Regions from separate parts of the Homo sapiens genome. Here all the other regions are linked to region 2. The links are contacts of gene promoters, found by promoter capture Hi-C in blood cells and fetal thymus (Javierre and others, 2016). All regions are on one chromosome and are shown on one strand. The core of a region is centred on a gene start or on the middle of the fragment in contact, and the rest is flanking DNA. Distances in the headings are between cores, read along the strand shown. Region 1 overlaps COBL (cordon-bleu WH2 repeat protein). Region 2 holds the start of DDC (dopa decarboxylase). Region 3 overlaps COBL (cordon-bleu WH2 repeat protein). Region 4 overlaps COBL (cordon-bleu WH2 repeat protein). Region 5 overlaps COBL (cordon-bleu WH2 repeat protein). Region 6 overlaps COBL (cordon-bleu WH2 repeat protein). Region 7 overlaps ZPBP (zona pellucida binding protein).

Region 1 (3,227 bases), core at 43-2,542, 610 kb before region 2:
AATTTATTAGCTGCTGTTGCTTGTTGAATCATCTCTAGTCTTTGGAATACCATTTTAGTTTTCTCAGAAGAAATAAAACCACAAGCAATATATAGTATTAATAATCTGAACAGTAAAAGCGTAATGCACACAGGATTGGATTATAGTCAGAAAGATAATTTATATGCCAGATCAAACAAACCTGAATTCCATTAGGGAACAACTGAAAACATCAGGCAGAACATTACATCCTGCTTCTTCTTTAGAGACTTGTAGCCAGGAGGTAATTCAGGATTCAGTCCAAATTGTGGGCAAATAATAATATCACAAAAACAATAGTCTGCTAGAACTGAATAACAGGTGGGTTATTGAAAAATAATTTTTCCAGTTCCTCCAGTTTTACCAAAGATAAATCATAGTAGAACCAGTTTATTTGTAAAATTAGTTTTACACTTATTATACTTGGCATGATTATTTGCATAAGATGCAGCAATAAGAGTGGCCATACTGACTCATTTTAGTTGGCTTTGCTGGAACTTTTTGGTTAAGGAATCTCAGATTAGATTTTTAAAAGCCTCTTGTGGCTAGGAAGCCAAGTTAAGGATTTACCATCTAACTGTGCCGGTAATACCTGTATGAATTCAGTGAATTTCTTTCTTCTCGAGATCTCAAAATATCTTGAGATTACTGGGCCTGTCAGAAAGTGACATGCTTTTACTTACTGCAAGGTCAGCAACCTTGTAAGGGAACCATGTCGACAAGGAACCGGGCCAGCCATTTTCTAAGTCCACTGGCTATAAAGTCAACTTCAGCCCTTCAAACCAGTCTGGTCATATCTGAAAATCTGTCATTCCAGTCTAAGCCTTGTAAAATAACCAGTGCTTTCAATGTGTCTTGTTAAAAAAGAAAACAGATCCTTGTTGAACTTATGCAAGTAAGTATATTGCCATAAAATGAAAATACAAATAGTTTCTGAATTTTGGAGAAATCAGGTAGAATGAAAGATAAATGTCTCAGTTTGCCCACCATAGTGTACTTTACCCAATTGCTGTAAGCTATAAATAGCTCAAAAAGAAAAGTTTTCTTGATGCTAGAAAACAAAACATGAAAAGAACCTACTGTGTTTCAAACAAAAAGAAGTCACAAAAATCATTTCAGTGCTCTGTCACTTCAGTGCCATGTACTTAGCTTTTATTCTGCTTGAAGTTGGGTTAGCGATCTTTATGAACTCATCAGGTTTGAAATTAGATTACTGGATTTTTTCTTTTTGCGTTGTTCAACGGCATGATCTCCAAAATTATCAGAAACTTGTATTCAGAGTGCTTTTTGTGATCTTCTTCATAAGGTTCCTTGAAGATACAATGCTTTGGCATTTACAAAGAACTTTTAGGAAAAGAGAGCATCAGAATAAAGCAATTTACTGTTTATGTCAAGACACATCAAATTTTTCGGTATCTTTTATAATTATAGAATGCATATTAATAGCATATTCATATAAAAATAACCTGAAGAAAGTTAAGCACCATCTCTTGGCTGGGCGCGGTGGCTCACACCTGTATTCCCAGCACTTTGGGAGGCCGAGGCAGGTGGATCACCTGAGGTCAGGAGTTTGAGACCAGCCTGGCCAACATGGTGAAACCCCATCTCTACTGAGGAGTACTAAATACAAAAATACAAAATACTAAAATACAAAAATTGCTTGAACCTGGGAGGCGAAGGTTGCAGCGAGCCAAGATTGTGCCACTGCACTCCAGCCTGGGTGAAAGAGCAAGACTCTGTCCCCAAAAAAACCAACCAACCAAACAAACAAAAAAGAAAGTTAAACACTCTTATTTAACAATGCTTCCAGTATGATTTTCACATACCAAATATGCCTAATATGCCGCTTTTGGAGTTCCAGGGTCCCTGTTTGGATTTCCAGGAGCCCTAATCTCCAAAAGTTAGTTCAATGTGAGAAAGACTCATTAGAATTTGAAGTTTCATTTTAGGAAGTTTGTCAAATGTCAAAGGCTTGAAACACTTGATTTCAAAATGAGATCACAGTAAAATAATATTCATTTAGTCAAAGTGATTTTTTTCAAAGATTTCAAAAAGCAAAAACATTTACTCTTTGATTAAGAGGAGACTTGGCTGGGCACAGTAGGTCATGCCTGTAATCCCAGCACTTTGGGAGGCCAAGGCGGGTGGATCGCCTGAGGTCGGGAGTTGGAGACCAGCCTGACCAGCTTGGAGAAACCCCGTCTCTACTAAAAATACAAAAATTAGCCGGGCATGGTGGCAGGCACCTGTATTCCCAGCTACTCGGGAAACTGAGGCAGGAGACTAGGTTGAACCCAGGGGGCGGAGGTTGCAGTGAGCCAAGATCATATCCAGCCTGGGCAACAGAGCGAGACTGTCTCAAAAAAAAAGAAGAGAGACTCAGTTTTCAGACCTAATAAAGACACGGTGAGTGTGTCTTCCTCTCTCTTCTTTTTTTATTGCAGCTTATTCAAAAGGTAAATAAAACCTTTTATTATTTTTTATCAATACTATATGAAAACCCTGTTCAAAAGAGAAAAACAAGTTTTGCCTTTGTATTAATGTATTATTACCAATAAACCTAATTTTAATAAAACCTTATAAACAAATCCATCCAACCTCATTCAGCTTTGACCACACAGATAAGTTTTCTATAAATCTTTTATAACCTTTTGCAATATTTTTCATTTTTTTCTAACTTCCTATACCCATTTAGTTTTATCTATCATTTTTGTATTTCATTAATTTAAAACAGCTTTTAAATAACCTTTAAGCCATGCAAAATTGTTGTTCCTTTAGCAAAAACCACATAAAACCACATGTATATATATATATATAGAGAGAGAGAGGGAGAGAGAGAGACAGAGAGTGAGAGAGTGTGTTTCACTCTTGTTGCCCAGCCTGGAATGCAATGGCATGATCTTGGCTCACTGCAACCTCCATATCCCAGATTCAAGTGATTCTCCTGCTCCAGCCTCCGCAGTAGCTGAGATGACAGGCACGAACCACCATGCCCAGCTAATTTTTGTATTTTTAGTAGAGACCGGGTTTCACCATATTGGCCAGGCTCGTCTCAAACTCCTGACTCTCATGTGATCCACCCACCTCAACCTCTCAAAGTGCTGGGATTACAGGCATGAGCCACCGTGCCCGGCCAACAAAAACTATATTTTTATGTCTTTTTTATAACCTTTTAAATTTTTATTTATTTATTTATTTATTTATTTATT
Region 2 (3,488 bases), core at 989-3,488:
AAATTCTTTCTCTTCTTGAGCTGGGATATCCATCTTCTCCTGCTCTTGGGCCTTCAAACTCAGGATGAATTACACCACCAGCTTATCTAGTTCTCCGGCCTGTAGATGGAAGACTGTGGGACTTCCCAGCCTCCATAATCACATGAGCCAATTTCTACAATAAATCTCTTCTTATATTCCTATATCCATATCCTATTATTTCCAGTTTTCTGGAGAAACCTGACTGATAAAGTGCCATGGTTGGGAAATCCTGCCCTAGATTTCTTTCTTTGGTCCTCGAAGCCTCACCCCTATTCCCCATAAATCCCACACCTGCAAGAAGAAAGGAAATGTAAAAAGAGTCCCTTCTGGGAACGGATGCTGATTCCTATGTAGATTTCTCTATTGAGAGATAACTGTTGCTCAGTAGTTGGACACTACTAGTTCACTTTTTTGAGGATTTCAAAACTGAGGTCTCTCTTCTCTATGGATGTTTTTTTTCCAGTCCTATTGCTTCAAATATCATCTAAACACTTTCAACCCATAACTTTATTTCCTGTCTGGGCCTCTTTTTCTGAGCTGTACTGGACATCTCAAATCACACGATTTGTGGATATCTGAAATTTAATTCCCAAACTGAATCCTTGGTGTCCTTCACCTCCCCACACCCAATACTGGTCCACCCCAGTCTTCTTCCTCTCAGTCTATGACCGTCATCCCCTGCCCACTGGCTTCATCACTGGGTAGTCGTTCCATCCCCTTGACTCCTCCCCTTGTCCAGCAACCTCCTAACATGCACACACACACACGCACTTATGGGGAATATTAGCACGCTTCTTCATCTCAAGCCCCCCCTCCCTCCCCCAGCCCATCTCCTAGAATGGATTCACTTGAATTCACTCCTGGTTTGCAGGAAAGTGCAGAAATCCAAGGAATGTGGTGGGAATTGGTGGTCCAACTTAAAGGGTCTAACCCTTTCACCCTTATCTCCCTCTGATCCATTTTCTACCCCAGAGCCAGAGTGATCTTAAACCATAAGTAAGCTAAGGTTACTGCTTTCTAGAAACACTTCAATGCCTTCTATTACAGTTGGGGGGATACAAATTACGTAACGTGGCTTGCAAGACTCCCCCTCCCCTACTTTGAATGGTCCTTAGGAGTTGGCCTTCTGTCAGGGCCTGGGAGATGCCGAGCTTGATCCTCAGTAACTTTGCAGAGGCTGTTCCCTCTTTGGAGCCCTTCCCTCACTCTTCCCCTTACCAAGGACAATCACTTCTTCGGTTCTCAGCTCCTGTGAGACCCCAGGCGGGAGCATTTGGGTGTGCGTCATTGGAGGGCTCACTTGCCATTCTTTCTCTTTTCCCTCTTTCCTCCAATGGCTCCTGTGGAGGTTTTGAGACTCCTCAATGTCACTCTGCTTCTCTCTCCAGTTCCAGTCCTAACAATAGGAACCCTAGGTGCCCCGCCCCAGCCTGCTCCAGTCCCCTAGGATAGAGCAAGGAGAGCTCTTCCCTGCATCTAGCCTGTGACAAATGGCTCTAGTGACAGCCCTCTCTGCCTTGTTTCCAGTCCTTTAATGAGCTGCCCGCAGCCAGCCTCACTCTCACTCTGCTCTTCACACCCACTGAGCCCCACGCTTGGAGCTGCTGGGGGTCTGCCAGAAAGACCAGCTCCTAAGATCCCTGCAGGCTGTGCCTGCTCAACTTCTCAATGTGGCTTTCTCAGCCCTGCTTTGTGCTCTCATAAAATTCTATCGACTTTGGGGTTTTTTTATAAATTTGTCCAAATTCCACTCAGAGTATTGTTTCATGCATCTCAACTATGATTTTGATGGGTTTGGGGAAGGAAGGTGAGTTCCTGGGTTCTGCTGATATCTGAACCTGGAAATCTTACCCATATTGCTGAGTGCTGCACCGGGAAGTGCAGGCTTACTTTGGGGCTGCCTTCAGGGGCAGGAGGCTGTGTGCAATGCAGGCATCACCTGGTGCAGGGCTGGAACATATCAGATGACTTAATGGGCTCCAAACTTGAAATCAGGGCTGCTTAGTAAAAGATGGGATGTATGTAGAATTACATAAGAAAGATCCAAGCTTCCAGGATTTGGAATGAAACAGTCTCTTCAGAATGTGCTCTCAGGATTCCCAGAGGCGAGCTATTTCTCAAGATTTCCTTGACCTTTGTCACCATCAGGAATTAATGTTTAACTGGCACATGTGGCTGGAAATGCAAGAAGAGGGAAACGTGTGGCTTGGAGTTTCAAGAAGAGTGACTGTCTCAGTGCCGAGTGCCTCAGCAGCTTCTCCACATGCTCTTCAGTCCCCAAAGTTGGAGAATCCCATCAAGGAGAGTAGCCCTGTAAGGAATTCGAATTTCCAGCATGTAAGTCTCTGATTTTATACCTACTCAGATTGTAGTAGTGGAAAACAGCAACATGTACCTTGACTCTCTGGCCCCATGTTACTGAACATTTGCTTAAAGGTTAACTCACTTGAGGGAGCTTGTGTGGTGCTTTCTCTTCTGCTGCAGGCTGGCAGGGGTTTTTGTTCAGTGGGGGCTGTGCACTTGGTGGCTCTCCATGCACACACAGTCACTCCAGTGACACATGTTTGATAGGTGCTGGGAATGATTTCATGACTGGCTCAGTAGCAAATGCGGGCCAGATGTGATTCTATTTTTTCCATGCACCACCAGGGATGGTGTTGGGTATTTTATTCCCCCAGCCTCTGTTTCTTCTGTAAATGAGGATTTTCTTAGTATCTACCTTGTGAGGATTAAATCCCATGATTTTATGGAGGTGATTAGTAAATGTGAACTCTGCCCTTCCCTTTATAACATCTGAGGCTCCGTCAGGGCTCTCTCCTTTTGGTGTATGTTATAGTTTACTTAGAGGTCAATTTGGTGTCTACCTATGCAGTGTGATTTGAGGAGAATTAGAAGATCTTTCCCACCAACTTGCCATGCTGAGTACAATTCCCATCTGAAAACATATGCGGATAGGAATTTCTATTGGGAGAATTGTTCGGTTATCGACTTCAAGGAGTCGAAGTTCTCCTGGTTTTAAGTCTGTTGTCGGAAGTATATAAGAATCAAAGCTTAATCGATGGAAATCATTGCTCTCCATCATGCGTGAGTTAAAACCATTACTTCTGAGTGGTCAGTTTACATTGGGCTCTGTCTAGAAGGTTTGCCTTCTTCACCTCCAGTCACATCCCCATTTCACAAGTGAGCAAACAGCCAGAGGAGGGGAGGAGGATGGCATAAGATCTTGCAGCTGGCAGAGACGAAATGTGAATGTAGCCCGTTTGCACTTGGTGCTGTCGGGCAGCCAAGCAATCCAGTGTGTAGGTCCAGGGCGACAAGCGCTGCTCCCATGGCTGGGGTAAGTCCCTCCAGCATTCAGCCTTGCTCCCTGTGCTTATCTGGATGCGGTGTAGGATGAAGATGACCCTATAGAACTCTACCCTGGAAGTCCTGGCAAAGTGGATATGTGACATTTTTGAAACCAGGGA
Region 3 (3,590 bases), core at 516-3,015, 660 kb before region 2:
AGGAGCCAGCTTCTACTCTACCCTCGCAGAGACAAGAGGCCTGCTTCTTTTTTTTTTAATCCAAAAGAGTAAGCGTGCTAATAATAATAGTAAAAAAATTTGTAATTACCACCAGTCATTGAGTGCTACCTGTGTCTCGGTGCCATACCAGAAACTTTACAGGGGTCATCTCATTTAATCCTCCCATTTACTCAGCTGATAAAAGCTGAAATCTCTCTCTGTTCAGCTCTTGGGGAAACTGAGGCCTACAGATTACAGGAGCTTATCTGGGGGAGATGCACAGCGTGGCCACGTCGTGGCTGGATTTGACCTGATGTTTTTCCAGCTCTAGAGCATGTAACCAGGATGTGGTGGATGGTGTACAGCTGTGGAGTGTCCTGGGGCAGACTTTCAACAGACAGTGCCTTTGTGTGCCCTGAAATGTGGCGTTTTGATGGGTAAAGTCGTTTCTCCCTGGCTTATTGCTCCAGTGTGATATTTATTGTTTTTATGCCACAATTCTGTGGGCTGCAGTGTGATTGTTTCATAGACACATATTTCAGCCCTTACTTATCTGGATCTTCTGTTGACTGTTTTTCTGGCTTTCCGTTTTGTTTGCAGGGGCCAAGACAGTGGGGAAAGCTTTGATGGGATTTTCCTCTGATAGCTCTTCTCCTCTATTAGAAGGAATTCTTGTCTTCACAGGAACATTGCCCTGAGCTTGGGAGGTGCTGAGCTCCAAGAAAAGGTATTACATGGATTCTTAATCTGGAGTCCCTGGTCATCAGGGTGGTTTGCAGAAATAATGTACAAGGAAGAGGCTTAGGAGTCTGAGACTCAGGGGCATGTGGCAGTTTAAAAAGAGCAGGGTCTCTGCACAAGTCTAAGGAAGTCATCAGAGCTGGGATCTTTTCTAGCTCCTGCTGGGCACACCCATAGCAGGTGCTCCTGGCTGGTGGCAAGCAGGCTGGAGTGCATCTTGCCTGGAAGAAGGTCCATGGCCTTCATCAGATACTCAAAGAAGTACCTGACCCTAAAGGTGTATTCAGGGATGCTTGAGACTAATCTGGGGTCTGTTCCAGCTCTGCCACCTACCTCATGTCATGCCGGGGCACGTCCTTCCATCTCCCTGTGACTCCAGTCTTCCTCTGTCTCCTGAGGCAGTTGAACACAGTCCCCATGCGTCCATCTGAGCCTCGTGGAACCTTGAGCACTGAAGGAAGTTCTTGGAGGCCCAACTCAGTTTGCAAATAAGGCTTGTCCAGACCCCACATCAGAGTAAAGGGGGCGTCTCTACAACTGTGTGCTGGAAACCTTCACTGAAGAGTATTCTCTAACCTCACCGCTCATCAGCCGGCACTGCAGGGCACCAGCGTTCTAGTATGTGTCAAGGAGTCCAAACATCCTAGCATCAGTCTGCCAGGAACCCCGGTGCTTGTTTTCAAGAAGTAATTAAGGCTGGAGGCGGTGCAAAGTGTGTAGGTGGTGTCCTAGGCTCAGAAAGACCTGGGCTAGAATTCCAGTCTTTTCCAGCTGTGTGATTGTGAGAAGGTTACTTAACTGGTTGGATACTCAGCCACCCTGTCTGTAAAATGGGGAGAATACACTTGCATATGAAGTTGCCAGGGGTATTGAACATACACAGTGTGGCATGGTGGCTGGATCATGGCATGTTTAGAAAATGAGGGCTTAAATCAGATTAGTGTTGGACTCAGGGATGTGGGAGCTGGTACAGGATGCGAGGATTCCTCATTCCCCTCTTTGGTAACCAGTTCTGCAGGCTGCGGTAGCACTCAGCTGTCTTCTGGGCATTTGTTTCTGGACATCTTTCTGACTTTTTATTATTGCTGAGAAAACTGGGCACTGACTTGGCAGCTGAATCCCAACTCACTCCCTCACTCACTCACTTACTCACTCACTTAGTCACTCACTTACTCACTCACTCACTCACTCACTCAACGCAGTGGTGACCGAATTCCTTCCCTGGGCCCAGCACTTCACTTACCAGTGATGAACAAGAAAGTCATGGTTCCTCTTCCCTTGGTAGAGGGAAGTCTACAACTGTGGCTGCAAATAAATAGCCAGACACAAACCAGACGCAGCTTATGTACCGCTTGTAAACAGGATGAAGCAAACATCCTATTGCTGAAGAATCTCATGGAGAGAGAATGGCAACTCCCTTCTGCCTGCAGCATAAACAGACTCTCTTAGCCAGGAGAGCCGGGTGTGCCTGGTTTCTCTCTGAAATTCCCTTTAAGCACATGCGGTTTGCCAGCAGCCAGCCAGAGTAGCCAACATGGTAAACAGGCACCCATGGTGTAGAGGTGCCATTCAGGTCAGCTGGCCTCAGCATCACTGTGGATTTCCCAGTCCACTTTTCTTGGACAGTAAGAAATTGTTATACCTTCAGGTCCACAGATGACATTTCCAACTGGAAAGATGGAAGATGTAAAGCATAGTGCTTTTGAACTCAGGGTCTGGGAAAGTACAGAGACGCATGAATTTTCCCTTTTCAGCATGCAGTCCCTGTCTACCTCAGCCTGACCAGCCTGGCTGGGCAGTGGCTGTCACCTATAGAGTTAGGTTTTAATTCAGCTACCTGGGCCTCACACCTGCGATTTGCATTCACTGCACCATGTCACCTAAGACCCTCTGACTTTCAGTGAGTGGATTTCAAGCCTTCTGCTGAATGTTGAAGAGCTCTCAGAATAAAAACCCAGCTGGGAGCTTCCAGCTGATGTGGGAATTAACAAGCGTCATCCTGAAACTTAGTAAATGTGTGATGGTTTTAAGCTAAAATCATTTAGAGCTATGGTTGATGACCTTGGAAATGGCAGAAATGTTTTCATATATATACTTTTTCATTTTATAAACAGTTCCTGCCAGGGCACACCCAGGTTTTTCAACCTGAATAGATCAAAGGAAGCTTGAGTTGTGTGTGCTGTGATTCATTCCCTGCTGAGTCCCAAGGACCTGCCCTGCCTCCTACTGGAGGGGGTGAGAGGAAGGAAAGCTGGATTACCCAGCCTGTGTGCACTGCCAGCCGGGAGCACCTGCGATGGGTGTGCCCAGCAGGAGCCGGGCAAGGTCCCAGGTCTGATGGCCTCTTTAGACTTGTGCAGAAGGCCTACTCTTTTTAAACTGCCACATGCATCTGAGTCTCAGACTCAACCACATGACATCTGCACAGATGTTTGAGAAAGGCATCCCCTGCTTGGTAAGCTAATGACTTTTCACAACCGAGTACAGATGTGGAGTCCCCACGTAAATAGCAGCCATTCTTTCCCAGGCTGAGCCACTCACAGGCAGAGGAAGCCAGGCGTTTTCTGTTTTGTGCTGTGACTGTGTTAGCTGCAGGATGGTGCCTGCGTTTAACAGAAGCCACACTGAAAGCACGAAACAGACAATGGGGAACAAGCCTGGTCTAAACCTGTGCAGGCCATCCACGTGCACAGGCCATCCACACACACAGTCCACCCACACACACAGTCCACCCACACTCACAGCCTGCCCACATGCACGGGCCGCCCCCGCATGCACGGGCCGCCCACACGCACAGGTCACCCACATGCAGGCGGATCACCTGAGGTCAGGAGTAGCCTGACCAACAT
Region 4 (3,309 bases), core at 455-2,954, 570 kb before region 2:
GGAAAATAAGCTTTGCTGAGATGAGTACATTTTAAACAGAAGCAATCAAATATGTACATATATATATACGCACACACACACCCATGCATACATAAATGTTTGTGTGTGTGTAAATTTAAAATTAGGACCCATGTCAAAAGCACTTGTGGCAGATGATACTGGTTTTATTTTGAGCTGGCACTCAGATCTGGAAACGGTTAGCTTCCTCTTCTTCCTGTCTTCTCTCCCCAGATGCGCGTATGAGAGTCAAATCACTGATGTTTTACACTGAATGTAAGGAGTTAATTGGCTATCAGTGGTGTGGTGACATGGACACAGAGAGTTTTGCATTGTCTTTGGTGGGCGCCATTGAATTCGACTATCCATTGAATGACAGCAGCTGGCCTGGAGGAAGTTTAAATCCCACCAACCTAAGTCCCATGAAGCCTGAGATAGAAGGTTCTGTTTGCTTAGTTTTCTTTTCTGTTATTCATTGCTTTTTCTTAATGATTTATCTGGTTGCACTTGCAACTCCTGAGAAAATTTGATAAGATCATGACTGCCAACATCTGTGGATTTTGGTGCCAACCTTTGGTGAGAGCTATGACTCACTTCCCTACAAAAAAAGAACTTGATATTAAAAACATGTATATATTGACAAGCTTGGACAGGAAATCAAACCTCTCTTGCAGGCAAGCAGTGGCCTGTCCCTCATGAACTTTGCCACTTTGTAGCAGGAGACAACCAAGGAAACTGGGATAATAGGGGGGGCCAAGCTGTTTTGACTCCAGACTGCATGCATTAAGCTCTTGGTTTTCCCTTTGACTTCGTATTGATATGAGTCAGGACTTTAAAGGACTCAATACTTCACAATGTTTTCCTCCCACATTATTCTGTGGATTGCTTTCTAAATTCTGCGCACAAATTCCAAAAGTAGGGAAAGAAGATAGAAATGAAGCACAAGTATTCGCTGGACAACATAAAGTTTTTGGCTTCCCATGGGTTGAAGGTTGAGAAACACTGTTGAGTAGCAGAACTGAGAAGAGGGTCTGGTGGCTCAGGACCACTGGACCCTGCAATCGACCTCCTTGGGAGCATTGTGGGAGGTGGGAAGAGATATTTGTTAATTGTGTAGAGCAAATTAGGGGAGAAAAATCATCTGTTCTATTGAAATTCAGTTAAGTTCCAGAGTCACAGATGAAGGCCTCATGAGGAGCCCATTGTCTGAAGATAATCAATATCAGAACTTCTAGGAGGACTGGGATGGGGTGCACTTCCGCCTTCTGACTTTCTGCCATTCAAGGTCATCTCAGTGTGGCCCTCATGAGGTCATGGCCACCCAAAATAGGTATCAGAGAAGAAGGAAACCACATATATTAGACACTTCTAATGTGCTTTATCTAAATTACTTCATTTAATGCTTGTAACAACTTTGAAGGAAATGGATTTTTCCCCATTTTAAAGATGGGGATGTACCTACTTTATGGGGTCTATTCCCATTCCTTACCTTAAAAAATAGATAATGCAAAATGTCCAGGATGCTTATGACAGCAAAAAAAATTATGAATTAAAACCTGAAATCAATATGAAATGGAAGGGGGCTGTAAAGTTCTTTTAAGGGAGTATTCTGCACAGACCTTCCTTAAGTGCTCAGGGCACTTACAGGACAGAGGTGGATTCACAGCAGTATTGATTGATCAGTCAGGCAGGCATAGTTGTGGTGAGGACCGAGGACAAGAGGAACTGGGAGTTCCATGTCTAGACAGGGTGGAATGAAGACAAGCAATTAGATATGTGGTTGTGGAATGCACTGCCATGGACATCGTGTTTCTGGGACGTCAGATGGGGCATGTGTGCTTTAGAGATAGCAGGTGGCATGGGTACAGGTGTGTAGTTCTTTGACTACCACAGCTTTAAGCATCCTCCAAAATGTGTGTTCACATGTGTGAGTGCACGTTTGTGAGTGTGTGCACATGTGCGTGAGTGTGTGCATGTGCAGTCACTGTCAGCAGACGTTATGGATGAGGAAACAGAACAGTGTGGAAGGTCCCAGTGTCCATGCTCTGGCCATATGCTAAGTGACTACTGATGAGGAAAGATGGGGTTTGCATTCCCCCTGGATCTGGGGGTGTTTGTACAAACCAGCCATCCAGCAAAACACCTTTCCAGCTCCAGAACTGTGAATAGCAAAATCCCTTCTCTGGTTTGCTTCCTGTGCTTCATTTAGTCTTCTAGATCCTGCAGGGTTAAATAAATCTTGAGTTGCATCTCCCTGAGTCCTCCCTGTTGCCATGGAGGTGGATGTAAGGCAGAGTTTATTTTGCATGGCTTATTTGCTTAGTAATGACTATGATGGCTGCAGAACTCAAGGACTCAAGGGAACAATTTACATTTTTCTGTAGGAGCCTAAATAGGCATTGACGAGTGTTCTGGGTGTTAGTTTCTTTTCTGTTATATCACCGTCACCTGTTTCCTATGGGAACTCTGCACCTGATAGCCAAAGCATCGGGCATCGTTGATATTCAGTGTCTGCAGGGAAGCACTAATGGCGTAAAAAGCAGCCTTCATGGAGTGCTTTGTCCTTTGGCTTTAATATTTAAGCACAAGAAAATCTGTGACTCAATTTTTTTTCAGGAAAACAAATGATAGTATAACTGGTAGAGCAACAGCATTTGTGTCTGAGCACAAATAATACTGGGCTATTGTTTAATATGATGGATTTCCTTTATATCTTCATTTTAAATATGGAGAACTAGTTGTTCAAATGAAATCTTACCCACAAGCTTATTATGTAAAATATGAAAGCATAGTGACCCAGAGGGTCATCTGTCTATTCATTGTCTCAGGAAGGTTGACTGAAGGGCCCTCCACCTACCAGGAACTGTTTGGAGCTGGGATTACATACAGTTCTCAGTAAAAATCAGTGATAATTACTGTCTTCATTGAGTTCACATCTTAATGGGAGACAAAGATACAAACAAGCAAGTGTAATAATCATAATAGCTAACACATATTGGGTACTTACTTTGTGCCAAGAACTCCTTTTTTTTTTTTTAAAGAAGTGGGATCTCACTCTGTCTTCCAATGACACCAGCATGGCTCACTACAGCCTCAAACTCAGGCTCAAGAGATCCTCCCACCTTAGCATCCCAAGTAGCTAGCACTAAAGGTGAGCATGACCACACCCAGCCAATGTGCCAAGAACTCTTTCAAGCTCTTTTACATCCAGTCACTCATTTGATTCACATGATAGCTTTGTAATGCAGGAACTATTATTTACCCCAGTTTTACAGGAGATAAACTGGGGTAGGGAGAAATTAAAAATTTGCC
Region 5 (3,490 bases), core at 384-2,883, 590 kb before region 2:
CCTGCTCTTTGTCAGACAAGTATAAAACAAGAATCTCACTTGCCTGCACATGGATTTAAGTTGCTTCAGAGACCAGAGAAGGTGAGAAGCAGAGCTCTCTGTCCCTCGGTATCCTTTCCTGTCTAGGAGATGACATCTCCGCCATCACAGTGCCTCGGGCCAGAACCCTGGGGTCCTCTTTGCCCCCTTTGCTCTCCCACTCCACCTGCAACCCTCATAGCGTCTGTCGCCTTCAAGATACATCTAGGATCTCACCACTTCACACAGCCTGGCCTTGTCACCTGGCCCAGGCCTCCTGGCGGCTCCACTTCCCAGCACCTGTGGTCTCCAAAGCCTCCTCCCCACCTCCCTGCTTTGCGCCCTGCGGTTTCACGCGGCATCCAGAGCGCAGCGCGCGCGGCCGCCAGGTGCGCGCGGCCGGGGGCTGCAGAGAGCCTGCAACGCCGCCCCCGCTGCCCTCCTCCAAGCTCCTGGCCAGCTCTTCGTGTGTCTTGATCCAGGTTCTTAAAAAAAGGAAGTGGACTATAGACAGGGTGTCCCACACACTGGCAGTCCCAGGGTCGGCCCTTGGGGCTGCTGTTTCTCAGCTCGCCTCCCTGCCCACACAGCCCCTGCACCCCCGCGCTGTGCCTTCCCTGTCCCCGGCGCTGTGCCTTCCCTGTCCCCCACGCCTTCCCTGTCTCCCACCCCGTGCCTCGCTTTCCCTGTCCCCCGCCCTATGGACACCCCTGGCTCAGGCCAGTGTGCTTGTCCCAGCATCGCGCTCATCTCCTGTTTTTATTTGATGTTACAGATTTCATTTCATTAGGAATGAGTGTTTCCTCCCCGACTTTTGCCTGCATTCTTTTCCAGCTCCTCCCTGGAAAAGGGCAGGGGCGGACACTTTCCCAGCCTCCCACCGTGCTCTGTTCCTAGTGGCACCTGCCCCAGGGTCTGGGCCCCTAGGGATGCGTCCTCTACCCTGGAGACTGGGATCTTCTTAAATCCCCACTGCTCCCTTGTTGTCTCCTCAGCTAGCACCACCTTTGCTTCCTCTTCCAGGGTTGTCACATTTTCTTGATTTCTGCATCTTAAATATGTCCCAGGCGGACCTATAGTCCTTCCCTTTTCTTCCTGTTGAGCGATGGTTACAGGCTGTGGACGCGTGTGAGTGAGGAGGCTCCTCCCCGACCCTGCCCTTCCGCCATCCGGTAGGTTTGGGTCCATTCTTCTCCATTCTTTCAACATAAACTGCACCTTGAGGGTCTCTTCTCCTTTTTGAAATTTTGCATGGTACCAATTCATAGTAGATTACAGAGTAAAATAAATAAAATAAACAAATAGAAAATACATAGAAATAGTAAAATAAAAAGAATAATAAATAAACAGTCCCATATCAATCATCCACCATTAACAAATGTTAATGTGTGTTTAGCTACATTTGCTGCATTGTCTTTTTGTTAACGACTAAGAAACACAGCAGACACAGATGACACTGCCTCTCTAACACAACAACTGGCTCTCTTCTTCCTTCCCCAGGGGCAGCAACCCTTTTAAAAGTTTTATATTTTAAGAAGTATAGTGAAAGGCTGTCTGTCCATTAACAACACAGAGCATATTTTGTATGTTTTAACAATGTGTGTGATGATTGTCTGTATTTTGTTTATTTCAATTGACAAATAAAAATTATATATCAGTGCATTGTGCAACAGCTAAATCAAGCTAATTACCATATCCATGACCTCACATACTTATATTTTTGTGGTAACATTTAAAGTCTACCGTTTTAGTAATTTTCAAGTATATAATACATTCTTAGTAGTTATAGTCACCATATAGTACAATAAATAGACTTCCTGAAGTGATTATTTATTTTCCAAAGTCTGAATTTTGACTTAGAGAATAAGAACAATGAATATTGAGGGGGAAAAAATAAGGAAAGAAAGAAGGAGAAAAGAAAAGGGAGAAGAGAGCAGAGTGCCTCCACTAAAATCCCTCCCCACATAGACACTCGCCTCTCCAACCACTTGCCCTGGGCACACTTTGAGTCTGTCCCATCAGCAGACCAGGGGGCACTGGAGACACACAGAGGAGCCAGGCCAACCCCCTGCCCTCAGAAGACACCAAGGAACCCCTTGCCGGTGCTACTGAAACTCCAAATTCTCTGGCATTGCCAGGGGCCTTGTTTATTTTTTTTGAGGCGGAGTCTTGCTGTGTTGCCCAGGCTGGAGTGCAGTGGCATGATCTTGACTCACTGCAACCTCTGCCTCCTGGGTTTAAGCAGTTCTCCTGCCTCAGCCTCCCAGGTAGCTGGGATTACAGGCCCACACCACCACGCCTGGCTAATTTTTTTGTATTTTTAGTAGAGATGGGGTTTCACCATGTTGGCCAGGCTGGTTTTGAACTCCTGACCTTAAGTGATCCGCCTGCCTCGGCCTTTCAAAGCGCTAGGATTACAGGCGTGAGCCACCGTGTCTGGCTAGCCCTGGCCTTGTTAAAACTCTGATTTGAGGTATTGGGGCAGATGAGGCAATAGGAGAATCAAGCCTGAGGCCCTGGCGAGGAGGTAGAGTCAGAGGGCTCGGTTCTCCTTGTGAGAAGGGCGAAGGAAGGTCTGTACAGAGAAGGCAAAGCCTCAGCTAAGCTGCGGATGCAGCTGTGTGGCTCCCTCTCTGAGAGGGGAATCCAGCTTAGGGGCACCTGTGTTTCTATTTTAAGTACAGAACAGTTTAAGGGGGAGAGGAAGGAGAAGGGTTAAGAAATGAAAGTTCCCATTCTTCAGCAGTTCCATTTAGTGATTTGAAAGTGCACCTTAACTACAGTTCATTGTGTGTGTGTGTGTGTGTGTGTGTGTGTGTGTGTGTGTGTGTGAAGGGTGGTTTTTTATTGACTGTACATTGGAAATGTGTGTTTAAAAATAGCCTGAACAAATGACTAGCTATTTCTCAATATTTGACCCTCCATGTGGGGTGAGAAGGATCAGAGAATTCTTTTATTTGCTTGGCTAAGAATGTTTGCCATCCGAGATGATATATTCTGGATCTGTAATTATATGGTGAGCGTAACTCCTTTGAATGACAGCCTCCAATAAAACTGAATAATTCTGGGTGATGCTTCCTGCTGGGTGATTCCTGGGGAACCTGATGTCTCCTTCAGAAGAGACACTTCGGTGAGCTTTCAGAAAGGGACATTTCGGAAGTATTGGCTCTGAGCTTCAAACTGAGATAATTTGATAAACTTGGACAAGAATAACTACTGTCTGGACATCATGGGGAGATAAAAAAGAGGAAAAGAACCACAACAAGAAAAATAAAAGGGTAAGAAAGGAATTAATTTGCCTTCTTGGCTTGTAAATTTTGTGTGTGTGTGTGTGTGTGCAGAGTATTTTGGTTGAACTACAAAAATCAACATTTAGTGATATATCCTAAGTGGACTGTCTTTGATATTTGTTTTCTTTTAGCACAATGAATTTCTGTTCTATGTCGTCTGGATGATTTTCTAGCTTTATAGC
Region 6 (3,518 bases), core at 153-2,652, 550 kb before region 2:
TTGCAGATACTGTGCTCTGGCTGTGGATTCCTCTCTGTGGCTGGGTCCAGCCTGCTCCAGCAGTGTAGAGCGTAGTTTGCTTGTTGAATGTAGGAGGGATATTTGGAGGACATAGGCTTTGCCTGGATTTGAATCCATCCCAGACTCCACCAACACTAACCTATACAACCTTGGGGAAGTTATTGAACCTCCAAGGGCCCCAGATTATAGAAGCGTAAAACATACTTTTGGTCTTCGTGACCAACACACCCTAATGTGACACCCCTCCCCCTCTCCCCCCCAGTGATTCACATCCTTGTATGAGCCCTTCTCCTTGAGTGAATTGGAATTTGGAACTTGCTTCTAACTTACAAGATATGGCAAAGATGATGGGATGTCACTCCCTGTGATTATAAAAGATTGTGAAATGCAGGTGGCCCCTAGGATGCGAGGATTGTCTCTGCTTAACAGTCAGTAAAAGGCCAAGTCTCTCAGTCTTGAACCCGCCAGAGAAGCAATTTTCAACAACCCCACTGAGCCTTCCCAATCAAACCTCCAGATAGAAACACAGCCTGCTGACACCTTGATTGCAGCCTTGTGAGACCCTGAGCAGAGGACCCGGCTAAGCCATGCTTGGACTCCCAACCGCTGGAAACTGAGATAACAAATGTGTGTGTTTGTGTTTAAACTACCAAGCTAATGGTAATGTGATATGCAGCAACAGAAAATTAATACAGTAGTCAATAGATTATATGTAAACTCAGGAAAGTAACTTGTGGTGCCCATTTGTTCTAGCCTAATTCAGAACTATGTGGCCAGAATTCAGGACAGCCACCGCCCTCTGGAAAGTGAGGAAAGAATACTAGAAAGGAGAAAGCCAGAGAGGGACAGCCATAAATTCTGTGGATAAATTCTGGCTAAATCTCTGGCTCAGCCTTGAACCATGCATGAAAAGGACAGATACCAAGCAGCCTGGCTAAGAACTAAAGAGCTGAACTGAGATTTGATTGCTGCTCAAGAAACAGGACTTAAAGTGAATCCAGTCAGCTTATTATTGCCCGTGAAGACAAAGTAATTTACAGTCTCCTGAGGAATATGAGGGAATCTAGAACCTCCTAAGCATAACACTCAACAATGTCCAGGATGCAGGCCAAAATTATTTAACATATGAAGAACCAGGAAAATGCGACCTATTCGAAAATGTGAAAAAGATAGTCAATAGAAACCAATCTGTAGATGACTGAGATGTTGGAATTAGCAGATAAGAATTTTACGACTGCTTGTAACTGTGGTAACAACATAATGGGAAATATGCTCATAATGAATGAAAAAAAGAAAAAATCTCATATGGTTAATAAGAACTATAAATAAGAACCAAGTAGAAATTCTAGAATGGAAGAACACAATAGCCAATATAAAAATTTCACTGATGGGCCCAACAACAGAATGAAGGTAACAAAAGAAAAAGGCAGTGAAGTTGAAAATAAATCAATTTGAAATATCCAGTTTCAAGAAGAAGAGAAAAATTTTGGAAAAAAAAGTAGATCCCCAAAGATTTATTTTTTCTATTTATTTATTTTTTCTTTTTATTCTGGGACTCTATTGACTCCAGAATAAGAAGAGAAAAAAATATTTGAAAAAACAAGGGCCAAAAGTTTTTTACATTTTGTGAGACAAAATTTACAAATTAAAGAGGTTTGGTGAATCCAAATCAAAATAAATAAGAAGAAAACTGTGCATAGCTACATAGGTACTTTATAATGAAATTACTTAAAAATAGACTTAAGGAGAAAATCTTATACACAAGTAGAGAAAAATGCCATATTTTGTGCAGGGGGAGGGGGGAGGGATAGCATTAGGAGATATACCTAATGTAAATGACGAGTTAATGGGTGTAGCACACCAACATGGCACATGTGTACATATGTAACAAACCTGCACGTTGTGCACATGTACCCTAGAACTTAAAGTATTATTAAAAATATATATATAAAAGAAAGTGAATCACTTTATCATCAGAAACAGTAGAATCTGGGTAACAATGGGACATCTTTAAAGTGCTGAAGAGACAAAACAACTGGTAATTCAGAATTACCTACCCAGCAAAAATATCCTTCAAGGATAAGGCAAAATAAAGACATTTTCAAATAAAATATAAAGAATTGCCATTAGACCTCCATAAAAGAAACACTTAACAGAAATTCTTCAGGCTGAAGATAAATGATATCAGATGGAAACTTGGACTCTTAGAAAGACATAAAGAGTGTCAGAAATGGTACATAGCTAGATAAACATAAAAAAACTATTTTTTCTCTTAATTTCTTTCCAATATATGTGATATATTTCTTTCCAAAATATATAAGATTACTTCCAATATATGTGATTGCTTAAAAATTATAATATTGTCTTTGGGGTTTATAATCTCTATAAGTGTAATACATAAGACAACTATAGCATAAAGCATGGAAGGGCTGGGTAAATGGACCTATGTGATTGTAAGTTATCCACATTTGATGTGAAGGGTTATAATACTTAATCTAATTTGACTGTAAAAGTTGAGCACACATATTATAATTGTTGGAACAACCATTAAACCAAATAATGCAAAGAGGTACAACTAATCCAGTGGTTAAATTTTTAAAACCCAAAAGTAAAGTAAGAACAGAGAAACAATAAACAGGAGCAACAACAGGAAACAAACTGGTTTATCTAAATTCAGCCATATCAATAATTACATTAAATGTTAACAGACTAAACACTCCAGTTAAAAGGTAGAGATTGTCAGAATGGATAAGAATGTTGTCTATAAGAACCTATTTTGAATAAAAAGACAGATACTGATTAAAAGTGAATGGGTAGAAAAGGATACCATTTAAACAGTAAGCATGAGAAAACTGGAGTGACTAGATGGGTAGCAGGTAAAATAGCCTTACATATTACTAGAGTTTAAGATGGACATTTCATAATGATTAAAGAATCAATACATCAGGAAGATTTCATACTCATATATATGTGTATGTACCTAATAACAGAACTTCAAAATACATGAAGATTTGACAAAATTAGGAGAAATAGACACATCCACCATCATATTGGAGAACAGCATGACTGAGAACAATCTCTCAGATAGAACAACTAGACAAAAAAAATGAGTGAAGAGATAGAGGATCTGACCAACACTACCAACTATCCATATAAATGATATTTATAGAACACTATATCCAACCACTACAGAGTACACATTGTTTTCTAGTACAATGTGGTATGTTTACCAACACATCTCAATATACTTAAAAGGATTTATATCATGTGGAGTATTACATTAGAAATCAACAGTAACAATATGTCTAGGACAACCCTCAAATATTTGGCAAACAACATACTTTTAAGTAATCTAAGTCAAAAAAGAAATCACAAAGGAAATTAGAAACTATTTTGAACTGAAGGAAAAAATATACAATATATTAAAATTTGTGGGATCTAGCTACAGCAGTCCTTAGAGGAAAATTTATAACTTTAAATGTCATATAGAAAAAACT
Region 7 (3,212 bases), core at 158-2,657, 530 kb after region 2:
AAAAGCCAGGTTAACAAGGGAGAAAGTGGCAGAAGTTTATGCGTGTGCTGTACCTATCATGCTGGAGAGGCCTCAAATCAAAAGTATCTCCGATTGGTGGCTTAGGGGCCTTGCTTACATAATATTTTAACAAAGAGCCACAAATCCAATTTAGTGACAAAACATAGGAGAGAGCAGTTCCAGTCTTCTAAAAGATTAGAAAATGTGGGATGATAGTAAAATCTGTTCCCAGATTCCTTTGGTGCCTGCTGGTGCTTTCTCTGGACAGATTAGCAAGTGTTGTCTCCAGTAAGGAAGGATTGGTGTCCTGCCATCGGGCAAATAGAGGCTAAGGCAGAATGGTCCCCTCCATTTTCAGCGTCTTTAACCTTACAATCCTCAATATTTGGGGAAGAAATATTTTGTTTTTCTTCAGTCCCCCTTTTACAGCTTTAGTTTTAGAAAGTTTTACATATTAAATTCCAAGTTGGTAGCTTTGGGGAGATTTGGATTAGAGGTTCTAACCTGGCAAAGGGTGAGAAACAGATTGAAACAAGTAGAAAGGAACAAATTTGGATTCCATATCTTATTGAATGAATCTCTTAGTCCTGAGAATAATAAGCTTAGTTGAACAGGTGAGCCTGATTTCAGGAGATGGTGTTAGAGGTGAGTTTTTTTTTTCAAATTTGGTTTCTATATGGTATAGGCACACTGGTATTTAGTTGGAATCATTTTTATGGAAAACACAGAAAAACAAAAGTTAACATCTGGAGCAGTCTGCAAACTAGTCTTTGAGTTTGGAGGGCAGTCAGCTGAGAATATTTTAGATTTTGACTCAAAACATTTCAGTTGGGATGGGCAGGGAGTGGCAATTTGATAGATTTTCCCAGATTGTAGTTTGAATCAGGTGTTCCACTGAACTTTCTGTACATACATAAGTTGTTGTAGTGATTTCTCCAAAGTTTGTATCAGGTTGTCTAGCATTAACTTGCAGGGGGCTTTAGGAAAAGCAGTTTTGATGTCTAGGGATTTCAAGTCAGATGAGTGAGTGGGAGAAATATTGGAAATTTTAGTCTGCAGAGTCATAGTCAGATATTGGAAGAAACTAAAAATTCAAGACTCAGCCTAGATAATTAAAAAAAAAAAACCCTCAAAAACAAATGGACAAAGCTAGAATCTAATAACAGGCACACTATAGTTTTTAAATTTTTCTTGAAACATAATTTTTCTCTCTCTGGTCACCTATTTCTACCAAAGATCACAGTGAGTCCAGTTTTGTTGTTAAGGAAGTTTTAGCCTCATTATAGTTGGCTTGATTAGTTATATAAACTGTAGCAAGGCCGGGCACAGTGGCTTACACCTGTAATCCCAGCACTTTGGGAGGCCGAGGCAAGTGGATCACCTGAGGTCAGGAGTTCGAGACCAGACTAGCCAACATAGTGAAACCCCATCTCTACTAAAAATACAAAAATTAGCCGGGTATGGTGGTGCACACCTGTAATCCCAGCTACTTGGGAGGCTGAGGCGGGAGAATCACTTGAACTTGGGAGGCAGAGGCTGCAGTGAGCAGAGATTGTGCTGCTGCACTCCAGCCTGGGCAACAGAGCTAAACTCCATCTCTAAATAAATAAATAAATAAATAAATAAATAAACTGTAGAAAGAATAATTATTGACGTTATTATAGACTCTTTTAAAGTTGGCTTTGCTGGAACTTGTCATAAGGAAAAGACTTTTAAAATCCTCTCCAGTTTAGGAAGTCAAGCTATGGACTCACCCTCAGATTTTACCTGTAGTACTTGAGTGAATTCTTTTCTTGAAGTCCCCAAAATATTTAGAGTATGCTATGCCTCTCAGAAACTGATATTTTTTTACTTACCACAAGGCTAGTAACCCTGTAAAGAACCATGTAGACAGGGTACTTGGGCAGTTTTTCCAAGGGATTAATTGGATCCTAGTTAACCTTTAGTTCCTTAAAGCAGCCTGGTCATACCTGAAAATGTGACATCGCAATCAAAGCCTTTGTAATATGTGTTTTCAACTGTGTCTTATTATGAAAGGAAACAGATTCTTATTAATGTTATGCAAATAACTATATTGCCATAAATTAAAAATATTTATGGTTAGTTTCTCAATTCAGAAGAAATCAGAGAGAAAGGCAAATGTTTTGATTTTGCTTTCAAAAATATGCTTTACCCAACTCCTGCAAACTATAAGTAGCTAAAAAAAAAGCTTTCTTGACTCTGGAAAAAAAAAAGTAATCAGCAATGTTTTCAACAAAAAGTGATAAAAATAATTTTAGTCCTACATCAGTTCAGTCCCACATAATTCTTTTTCTGCTTCATGTTAGATTAGCAATTTTATGAGTCCAGTTTTTAAAATTGGAGTTACTCAAATTCTTACCCAGTCTAATTGTATTATCTCAGTGATGTCAGAAATCTGTACTTAAGTGTATTTAAAGTCTATTCCATGAATCATCTTGAAGATACTTTAGGATTTGCGAGAGATTTTGAAGAAAAAACAAAAGCAACAGAATAAACAGTAACACATCCAGAATGTTTATTAGGGACCAGTTCTGTAGGCACTTTTGCCTACCAACTACAACAATCTCAGACTCCCAGAAGGCAAAAAGATGTTCAGTGCATCGGTTAAGAAGACAGTTTTATCATGAAGAAAAAGATTCCTGACTGTGTAGGGAGGTGTTTACCAGCCAAGGGCTAATCCTGCAAGCAGCCTCCCACCTGCAACGTTAACTCTTTTAGGCACATAAGCTGATCCTGAATTGTTGCTGGTTTGTGTGTACTTCTGCTGGACACTCAGAAGAGTATACTTTTGATACAGTGTTTCAGAGAATTTGGGGGATATTTTGACTTAAATTCAGACTTAATTCTATTTCAGGTAATACCTTGATATGAGTCAGATTTCTGGAGAGAAAAAGTTTTCTTTCCCTGTCCCCAGTCATACTGTGACTCAACTATAGTTCCAGCTCTGACCCCTCAGGTTCAGTTATTCTATGTGATATTTGTATATATTACATATCTTTGATATTATAAATCATGATATATGTAATATATACATGATAAATGTGTACCTACGCTGATGGATGAATCAGTACAAAAAGCATGTTAGAATTCCTGTTCAGAAATGAAACCTATAGAGGTTTCCTCAGCAATTAGAAGCTGTCTGGTCTCTACTCCAAATACAAAGATGGACAGTAGCTAAGTATGTGTACTTA

What was found. Contacts are between HindIII fragments. The CHiCAGO score rates a contact against its expected background, and 5 or more counts as called.
Region 1: a contact is called between a fragment that was not itself captured here and the fragment with the promoter of DDC in region 2, in 1 of 17 cell types (fetal thymus). The highest score is 6.1, in fetal thymus.
Region 3: a contact is called between a fragment that was not itself captured here and the fragment with the promoter of DDC in region 2, in 2 of 17 cell types (M0 macrophages and endothelial precursors). The highest score is 5.5, in M0 macrophages.
Region 4: a contact is called between a fragment that was not itself captured here and the fragment with the promoter of DDC in region 2, in 3 of 17 cell types (endothelial precursors, erythroblasts and megakaryocytes). The highest score is 7.0, in endothelial precursors.
Region 5: a fragment that was not itself captured here is called in contact with the fragment with the promoter of DDC in region 2 in 8 of 17 cell types (endothelial precursors, erythroblasts, megakaryocytes and 5 more); the score reaches 13.0 in endothelial precursors.
Region 6: a fragment that was not itself captured here is called in contact with the fragment with the promoter of DDC in region 2 in 1 of 17 cell types (erythroblasts); the score reaches 6.1 in erythroblasts.
Region 7: a contact is called between a fragment that was not itself captured here and the fragment with the promoter of DDC in region 2, in 4 of 17 cell types (activated CD4 T cells, naive CD4 T cells, fetal thymus and 1 more). The highest score is 8.4, in activated CD4 T cells.

The regions. Positions count from the first base shown.
Region 1 is chr7:51,177,789-51,181,015 of GRCh38, reverse strand. All of the region lies in intron 5 of COBL (cordon-bleu WH2 repeat protein), which reads left to right. Among named protein-coding and RNA genes, the nearest start is that of COBL, 140 kb to the left of the region's middle. The HindIII fragment of the contact is 6,245 bases long and covers 1-3,227 here.
Region 2 is chr7:50,564,155-50,567,642 of GRCh38, reverse strand. DDC (dopa decarboxylase) reads left to right here and starts at 2,238. Exons shown (of 15, transcript NM_001082971.2): 1 at 2,238-2,358. The HindIII fragment of the contact is 1,002 bases long and covers 2,072-3,073 here.
Region 3 is chr7:51,224,870-51,228,459 of GRCh38, reverse strand. The region is part of intron 1 of COBL (cordon-bleu WH2 repeat protein); the gene reads left to right. Among named protein-coding and RNA genes, the nearest start is that of COBL, 90 kb to the left of the region's middle. RefSeq lists enhancers at 1,208-2,407, 2,572-3,280, 3,281-3,590. The HindIII fragment of the contact is 2,284 bases long and covers 624-2,907 here.
Region 4 is chr7:51,137,313-51,140,621 of GRCh38, reverse strand. All of the region lies in intron 5 of COBL (cordon-bleu WH2 repeat protein), which reads left to right. Among named protein-coding and RNA genes, the nearest start is that of COBL, 180 kb to the left of the region's middle. The HindIII fragment of the contact is 2,121 bases long and covers 644-2,764 here.
Region 5 is chr7:51,156,059-51,159,548 of GRCh38, reverse strand. The region is part of intron 5 of COBL (cordon-bleu WH2 repeat protein); the gene reads left to right. Among named protein-coding and RNA genes, the nearest start is that of COBL, 160 kb to the left of the region's middle. The HindIII fragment of the contact is 3,798 bases long and covers 1-3,490 here.
Region 6 is chr7:51,115,384-51,118,901 of GRCh38, reverse strand. The region is part of intron 6 of COBL (cordon-bleu WH2 repeat protein); the gene reads left to right. Among named protein-coding and RNA genes, the nearest start is that of COBL, 200 kb to the left of the region's middle. The HindIII fragment of the contact is 8,014 bases long and covers 1-3,518 here.
Region 7 is chr7:50,032,098-50,035,309 of GRCh38, reverse strand. The region is part of intron 4 of ZPBP (zona pellucida binding protein); the gene reads left to right. Among named protein-coding and RNA genes, the nearest start is that of ZPBP, 60 kb to the left of the region's middle. The HindIII fragment of the contact is 1,608 bases long and covers 604-2,211 here.